Regions from separate parts of the Homo sapiens genome. Here regions 2 and 3 are each linked to region 1. Evidence: promoter capture Hi-C in 16 types of primary human blood cells and fetal thymus (Javierre and others, 2016). All regions are on one chromosome and are shown on one strand. The core of a region is centred on a gene start or on the middle of the fragment in contact, and the rest is flanking DNA. Distances in the headings are between cores, read along the strand shown. Region 1 holds the start of ELMO1 (engulfment and cell motility 1). Region 2 has its middle 94 kb from the start of ANLN. Region 3 overlaps AOAH (acyloxyacyl hydrolase).

What was found. Contacts are between HindIII fragments. The CHiCAGO score rates a contact against its expected background, and 5 or more counts as called.
Region 2: a contact is called between a fragment that was not itself captured here and the fragment with the promoter of ELMO1 in region 1, in 1 of 17 cell types (naive CD8 T cells). The highest score is 5.7, in naive CD8 T cells.
Region 3: a contact is called between a fragment that was not itself captured here and the fragment with the promoter of ELMO1 in region 1, in 1 of 17 cell types (activated CD4 T cells). The highest score is 7.4, in activated CD4 T cells.

The regions. Positions count from the first base shown.
Region 1 is chr7:37,447,552-37,450,174 of GRCh38, reverse strand. ELMO1 (engulfment and cell motility 1) reads left to right here and starts at 1,311. Exons shown (of 22, transcript NM_014800.11): 1 at 1,311-1,500. RefSeq lists silencers at 1,562-1,611, 1,622-1,671. The HindIII fragment of the contact is 5,071 bases long and covers 1-2,623 here.
Region 2 is chr7:36,482,353-36,484,975 of GRCh38, reverse strand. No RefSeq gene overlaps it. Among named protein-coding and RNA genes, the nearest start is that of ANLN, 94 kb to the right of the region's middle. The HindIII fragment of the contact is 4,800 bases long and covers 1-2,623 here.
Region 3 is chr7:36,678,018-36,680,640 of GRCh38, reverse strand. All of the region lies in intron 2 of AOAH (acyloxyacyl hydrolase), which reads left to right. Among named protein-coding and RNA genes, the nearest start is that of AOAH, 45 kb to the left of the region's middle. The HindIII fragment of the contact is 3,690 bases long and covers 1-2,623 here.

The sequences.
Region 1 (2,623 bases), core at 62-2,561:
ATAAGGTGAGCCACTAATGAGAGCCTATGTGTAGCCTTACATTTTCTAGTAGCTACATCAGAAAATGTAAAAAGAAACTGGTGAAATTAATCTTATATATGCTTATATCTTAACCCAACACATGACGAATCCAACTGACTTACTACATCAGACTATTCTCATGTATTGCAATAATGTAATCAACATAAACATACTTAACAAGTTAGTTTACATTCATTTTAAAAATACTGAATTGTATGTCTGTTTTACACTTACAGAACATCTCAGGGATAGCCACATTTCAAGTGCTCAACAGCTGCCTGTGGCTCTTGAGGGGGAAGATCTTAAAAGGGAGCTTAGTTTTCCACCTTGATTCTGATGCCTCCCTGCCCCCGACTTATTTCCTTTGCCAATTAGAAGAAAATGCCGAACTGCCTTTGACTTTTCCGGTAGAGCCAATGTAGGTATTTCTGAACTGGGGGAGGACAGGTGGTTCGCCTGCAACCCTCTTCCCTCCTGCCAGCTAGGCTGGGAGTTAACGTTTTTGATTTCTGCTTTGAAAATGATTTAAGTAGGTTGCATGAATTAAGTAATTTATTCTAAATATCAAATTATGGGTGGAACGTCTTGCCTTATGCAAAGTTATGCAAAATTAGGAAGTCCCTGGCTTAATTGGTTAGAAATACATCTTGTAGTTTCAATTGCAGGGTTAGTAAATACATAGATGTCGACGGAGAGGGAGGAAACTTTTTTTTTTTTTTTTTGCCACTCTGTCCAAGGGTAGAGGCACAGCGTCAAAACAAACACGTCTTAAAGTAGCGTTCAAACAGCCCACCGAAGTTTCCCCTTAATATCCGGAACCGGTTGCCAAAAATTAAAAAAGGATGTGAAAAGATGCTACTCGCTTTTGGCCTCCCGGAGATGGCGCTATGAGGGTGACGGAGTTAATTAGTGCCTCCAAACGCCGTGTGTGAGCTCATCGAAGTCATGCTCTGCACACATATTATTTATAGCAGATCTGAGGCATGCATGGTGTTTGACATTTCTGTCTTTTAAGTAGGGGGACTTCAAAAAGTCGTGGGCATCCCCCTAGGCAAAGTGCAGTGGGCAGGGACCAGGCAGGGTGCGGGCGCAAGGCGAACGCGCAGACCACGAGTGTCCTGGCGCAGGTGCCGGGGGCGGCGGCTGCAACTCCGCAGCGTCCGCTCGGGAGGAGAGTTCGCGGCTGATCTCCGGATGCCTTGCAGATGCAAAATGTGTCTCTGGCCAGCAGGAGGAAGGAAGAGGAAGTGAGAGCAGCGGCAGCCGGCGGTGCAGCAGCCGGCCGACCCAGAGTGTAAGTGCGTGTGCTGGGGCGAGCGGGAGCGGGCGAGGATGGGCACAGGATAGAGGCAGAGCCACCCACGCCGCCGCGGCCCCACGCTGGGCGACAGAGCCTCCAGTTCCCCTTCAATGGTGGCGGGTCGCCGGAGCTCTGATCGCCGGGAACCCTTGCCGCTGCTGTCCTGCGACCCCAAGCAGGTTCGTAAAGTTTCCTGGGCTGGCGCCGCGCCCCGACTCGCTGACCTCGGCGCGGCAGGGGAGGGGGCCGGGACTGGGGCCGGGAGGAGGCGTCCTGCTCCGGGGGACTCCGGGCGCCGCGGAGACACTTTTGTTTCCTCCCTGGGGGCGCCGCGGCTCGGGCGGGGGTGGCCGCCGCGCTCGGCAGGGTGAGGGCTGCGGGCGCGTCGGGGCGCTCTGCAGTTGGGGAAGTCTGAGCTCCGGGGATGGCGGGAGTGGGAGTGGGAGCGGAGGGAGGGGGCGCTGGAGGTGCGGCGCCCGCGGATGAAGCGCAGGGCCCGGGGCCCGGGAGCCCGCCGAGACATTTCGACCAGGGTCTGCGGGAGGGGGGGCGCGGGAGGGTTGCGACGCTGGCGCGGGGTTACTGGGGACGGGGGATGTGGGGCTGGGATCTTGGAGTCAAGATTCCTATAGAGCTAGAGAAGCGGCTGCGGCTCAGACTCGGCGTCTTCTCCTGCACTCGGGGATGGGAGGGAATCCCCCGGCGAGCGCGCTCGTGGGAGGGGGCGGTGATGGGCCAGAGGAATGGGGGCCAGGAGGGCCGGAGAGGGCGGTCTGGGCAGCCGGGAGCCCCTGAGGTTCTGGTTAGTAAATACTCTCCTCCCGGGGACACACCGGGGTCTCCGCCGAGACCGAGAGAGGCGGCGGGGAGCTTTGTGGAGCTTCGTGGAAATCTCGGCTTCGGAGAGGGGACGCACCGGGCGCGCCTTCAGAGAAGGGGGCGGCGGCATGCCAGGGGGCCCGGGAATCGGAGCGGAGAGTGGCGACTGCGATCGCCGGAGTCGCTTTGAGGAAGAGGAAATACAGAACTCAGCTGTCCCGGGGGTGCGCGCGTGTGTTTGGGGTTGGGAAGTCGGTGCTGTGCCGCGAGCGCGCGCGAGGCGGCGTGTGTGTGTGTGTGTGTGTGTGTGTGTGTGTGTGGTGTGTGCGCGCGCGCGTATGTATGTGTGTGTGGTGTGTCGTCGGTGTGTGTGTGAGTGTGTGTGTGTGGGGGGGGTGTTGTGGGTGTGTGTGTGAGTCGGTGTGTGTGTGTGTGACCGCACAGCCAGGAACTCCCCGCCCAGTGACCCTCTCCCGCCTAGGG
Region 2 (2,623 bases), core at 58-2,557, 970 kb after region 1:
GAAACTGATGAAGTAATCTCAGAGCATTGTTCTTCTAGATTTCTACTCTTTTTCCCTTTTGTACTTAATATGGCCGCAGTTTCTTTTTTTTAATTTATTTTTATTTTTTGAGACGGAGTCTCACCCTGTCACCCAGGCTGGAGTGCAGTGGCGCAACCTCAGCTCGCTGCAACCTCCACCTCCCGGGTTCAAGCGATTCTCCTGCCTCAGCCTCCCGAGTAGCTGAGACTACAAGTGCGTGCCACAACACCCAGCTAATTTTTGTATTTTTAGTAGAGATGGGGTTTCACCAGGATGGTCTCGATCTCTTGAACTCATGATCTGCCCGCCTTGGCCTCCCAAAGTGCTGAGATTACAGGCGTGAGCCACTGCGCTCGGCAGTTAATCTTTATAGAATCTCTGAGTTATTGTTTAAAAATTTCATTTTCACACTTTCAGTTTATATAATGTTTAACTATGACATTTACAGTATGTCATTTACAACTGGTACGATCACGTTTGGGAGCAAACACTATTGACTCTTCTGACATTTGCTTGTAGAAACAGAAATGCACACACCTGTTAGGGAGCATTCCACTAGCCTCTGATGGTTACCAAAGAATTTTACCAAGGGAATGAGCAAATTAATATAGTGATATAGTTAAGTGGGACTTACAGTCTATTTATGATGAATGCATATGTCCACGCATGCGTTCACATGCACACACACACACACACACACACACACACACACACACACACACTCCCTGACTTCTCAGGAATGTGCATCTTGAGGGAGATCCTTTAGTTTTGTTGAGAAGGGATGTTAACAACGATGCAAATGAATGAAGCCAGGAAGGATAGAGTGGAACTGGACCAAGATGGAACTGGACCAAGATGCCAGACTAGAAGCAGCTCATGTGCACCACTCTCACAGAAAGGAAACAAAAGGGCTAGTGAACACTGACCCTGCAGGCCAGTCATCTGAAAAACTACACTGTGGTCGGGTGCAGTGGCTCATGACTATAATCCCAGCACTTTGGGAGGCCGAGGTGGGCAGATTGCCTGAGGTCAGGAGTTTGAGACCAACCTGGCTAACATGGTGAAACCCCGTCTCTACTGAAAATACAAAAATTAGCTGGGCTTGGGTGGCACATGCCTGTAGTCCCAGCTACTCGGGAGGCTGAGGCAGGAGAATTGCTTCAACCCATGAGGCAGAGGTTGCAGTGAGCCAAGATGGTGCCACTGCACTCCAGCCTGCACAACAAAGCAAGACTCCATCTAAACACACACACACACACACACACACACACACACACACACACACACACATTGGGATCCATCAAGGTAGCCAAGAAACATAGAGAGCAGAACTGGGCACCAGCCTGTCTGGGCTCAGTGCAGAGCCAGGAGAATCTCTCCAATACCAGAAAGGATGAGTGAGTGAGAGCCCCCTGAGGGATTCACACTTTCCACGAGGACCTGTGCAAAACTGAGAATGGGAGAATTCTCCTGGCCTTCCCACACCCCCCACTGCACTTCAAGACTAAGGCAGAGAACCACCTGGACATTTCGCAGGGGCAACTCTTGAGTCCAAGGGGACCTCTCCAGGCCTGAGACCCCAGAGCAGACCAGTACCAGTGCCATAGCCTCAATAGAGACCACAGTCATGGTGCCTGGGAGCAGTAAGATTGCTCTACCTGCCCCTCGCCAGATGGAGCTTGGCACCAGCTTCTGGCCCAACAGTCCCACTTCTGTGCAAACTCAGCTGACAGCTACAGCCTCCTGTTATCCTGGGAATCACCTGGATGACAGGGTAGGCAACCTTACCCACCCCTACCACTGATAGCCAGGTAAGCAATGCCTGCTAGAGCTTCCAGCCCAGCAGTCCGACTTCTGTCTGAATTCAGCCAGCAGGTGCAGCCTCCCACTGTCCTGGGAAATGCCCAAGTGGCAGGATGGGTGACCCCACCCACCCCCTGGCTGCTGGTAGCCAGGTGGGCAACACCTGCTAGAATTTCCAGCCCAGTGGTCCCACTTCTGTCTGAACTTAGCTGGCAGATACAGCCTCCTGTCGTCCTAGGAAGAACACCCAAATGGCAGAGTAGGTGACTCCACCCATCCCTGCCTCTCATAGCCAGGCCAGCCAGGCCTGCTAGAGCTTCAAGCCCAGTAGTCCTGCTTCTGCCTGAACTCTGTGGGCAGGCACAACCCTGTCTTCTCCCAGCCAGAAAGCACTCAGACAGCAAATTAAGGCCAACCCAGAAAGCATACAGCCAGCTGGCCAACTGTGGCCCCTGCCTGAGGGAGCCCCATGTACCAGAACACCCAACAACAAAACGTGGATATAGAGACAGTAATCAGAAGGGGCTCCTCCAAGATCCAAGAGTGGACTAGAATCAAAGCAAGTTGACTAAACCCACCTTATACCATAATCAAACCCCCAAGGGCATCAAAGGAGATAAAAGAAAAAAAACACACATAAAGACAGCAACTTCAAAGATTAAAGGAACATCACCCCACACGGATGAGAAAGAACCAGTGCAAGAAGTCTGGCAACTCAAAAAGCCAGAGTTCTTTTTGTTTCCAAATAACAACACTAGTTCCCCAGCAATGGTTCTTAACCAGGCTGAAATGGCTGAAA
Region 3 (2,623 bases), core at 81-2,580, 770 kb after region 1:
ACAGAATGGTTATGTCAGTTGTATGGGGTGGCAAAGATAGACGTTCTCCTAGCTAAGGATTTCTCCTGGAAGACATAATAGGCCTGACCCACAGTGCCTACTGGGATCCAATATTGCATTGCCTTCTGTCTGGTAGGCCAGGTGAATGGGGGACAGAAGGATATGAAATTAAGCACATAAACACACAATTATTTTTAAATTATTTTTCAGTGAAGTATTACTTTCACCTCCAAAGCTAAAAAAGTACAAAAAACAAAGTTTTAGCAGGGAAATCGCGTAAGCACCATTCTTGAGAATAATCTCTTAGTAAATCATGTTGCCTTTCCCTGTGCCCTATAAGACAGTTTTTTTCTAATCGTGCAAAGCATTTCTGACCCTCAGTTTCATCCACTGCTTTTGCCTCTGGCTCTCATTAGGAAGCACCTTGGAAGAATCTCGGAATTGTTAATGGAAAATGATTAATGGAATCATTCTCACTAGTCAGGGGTCAACAGAATCATATGCCCTGAGAGTCTTGCTACAAGTTCACTTTCCTGGGTCACCTATGCAGAAATTTTATCTCTGTGGAATATAATTGTTAAAAACTCATGTAGTCTTAAAAGAAAGAAGGCACTTCATGCCTACTCTGGAGGTTCTGAAAGTCTGAATGCATCCCAGAATATGTACTTATAAAATTGTGTGGTTGGCCGGTTGTGGTGGCTCATGCCTGTAATCCCAGCACTTTTAGGAGGCCAAGGCGGGCGGATCACAAGATCAAGAGATCACGACCATCCTGGCCAACGTGGTGAAACCCCATCTCTACTAAAAATACAAAAATTAACTGGGCGTGGTAACATGTGCCTGTAGTCCTAGCTACTCAGGAGGCTGACGCAGAAGAATTGCTTGAACACTGGAGGTGGAGGTTGCAGTGAGCTGAGATTGCACCACTGCACTCCAGCCTAGGGACAGAGCAAGACTCCGTCTCAAAAAAAAATAATTATGTGGTCCCTTGGTGGCACTGTGCTTCAAGTTTGTATATAATAATTATACATATGTAATAATGTATACATATTATACATATAATAATGTATACATATTATACATATAATAATGTATAACAATATCTGCTATACTTGAGGTAGATAAGGCATCAAATAAAATGTCCTAAGCACATTGAAATGTATACTACAAATAACAAGACCTTTTGGAGTATTTTAATCTCAGCTGAACCACTTGCTATGTTGTGATCTTAAGCTCTCTAAGTCTTAATGTTCTTGTCTATAGAATGAGGATAAAAATAATTACCCCCTCAAAAGATTCTTTTTTTTTTGAGGCCTCAATACTTTTTTTTATTTTTATTTTTTATATATATATTTATTGTACTTTAAGTTCTAAGGTACATGTAAACTAGTTCAACCATTGTGGAAGACAGTGTGGTGATTCCTCAGGGATCTAGAACTAGAAAAGATTCTTATGAGAAAGGAAGTGATGGTAAACATGAAGGTAACTTACAAATTGGAATGTCCTATGTTTTATTTACACATACATCTGTATACACCCAATGTATGATAACTACTTAATTGGTCTTATTTTAACTTTATTTTGTCCTTTGGAATAGCCACATTTTCTTTTTTCCTATGCTGTTCCAAGTCTCTTTTAATCTGTAGAAATTAAATACTCTTGTATGATCCTTGTCACAGGCAGAGTTTAACAGTATAATTTTTACTTTAGCTAAGCTACTGTCAATATGTAAATGCCAAATTTTTCTTCAGGTGTATCAGTAACAATCAGGTTACCATCTGATCATGGCTGACTGGGGATAGCTGGCTCTTTCTGGAGATTTTGCATATTTCTGCTTTGTACCCTTACGGATTGCTCTCAGAATTTAGCTCTCAGAGAGCATTTCCTGTCCCATATCAGCCATTGCTCCAGGGGCCTCTCAAGCTAACAATCACAGAAGACTACCGGAAACTATTCAAATGGTTCTGCTCAGGGAGGAAGGAACCTGCAGCCATCCTCTTTGACTTGAGCTAAACAGAATTCTAACGCGCGCGCGCGCGCACACACACACACACACACACACACACACACACACACACACACACACACACTGCTTATCTTACCAGAAAGAAGATGAATTTTCTCTGCCTTTCAGCCAGTATTAGAACTTTATCAAAGAACACCCTAATGTCCATTTTTAAATTGCTCTGCTCTAGGCTAAGCCAGTTCTGCATTAGCAGTACTTTTAACTTTTTTCCAAAGCTCCTTCATTTAATTTGGAATATCTCTTACAAAAGTCCCCAAACTTAGCAGACATTATAGTGATAGAGACCAAATCCTACACCCACATTTTTCAGATGAGGAAATGGAAGTCCAGAAAGGGGAGGCAATTTCTCCAAGGCCAGAAGCCAGTGGGCTGGTACTGAATGAAATGCAGGTCTCTGAGTATACTGTGACATCAGAGCTTCTTGACCCTCTCCACAGTAGCACCCCTAAAAAGGATCCCAAGGGAGAGGGAATCTGTATTTAAACACTTTTATTAAGCTACAATTCACATACTGTACAGTTCACTCATTTAAAGTGTACAATTTAGTGACTTTCAGTACAGTCATAGAGTTGCGTGTTCATCAGTCACCACAATCAA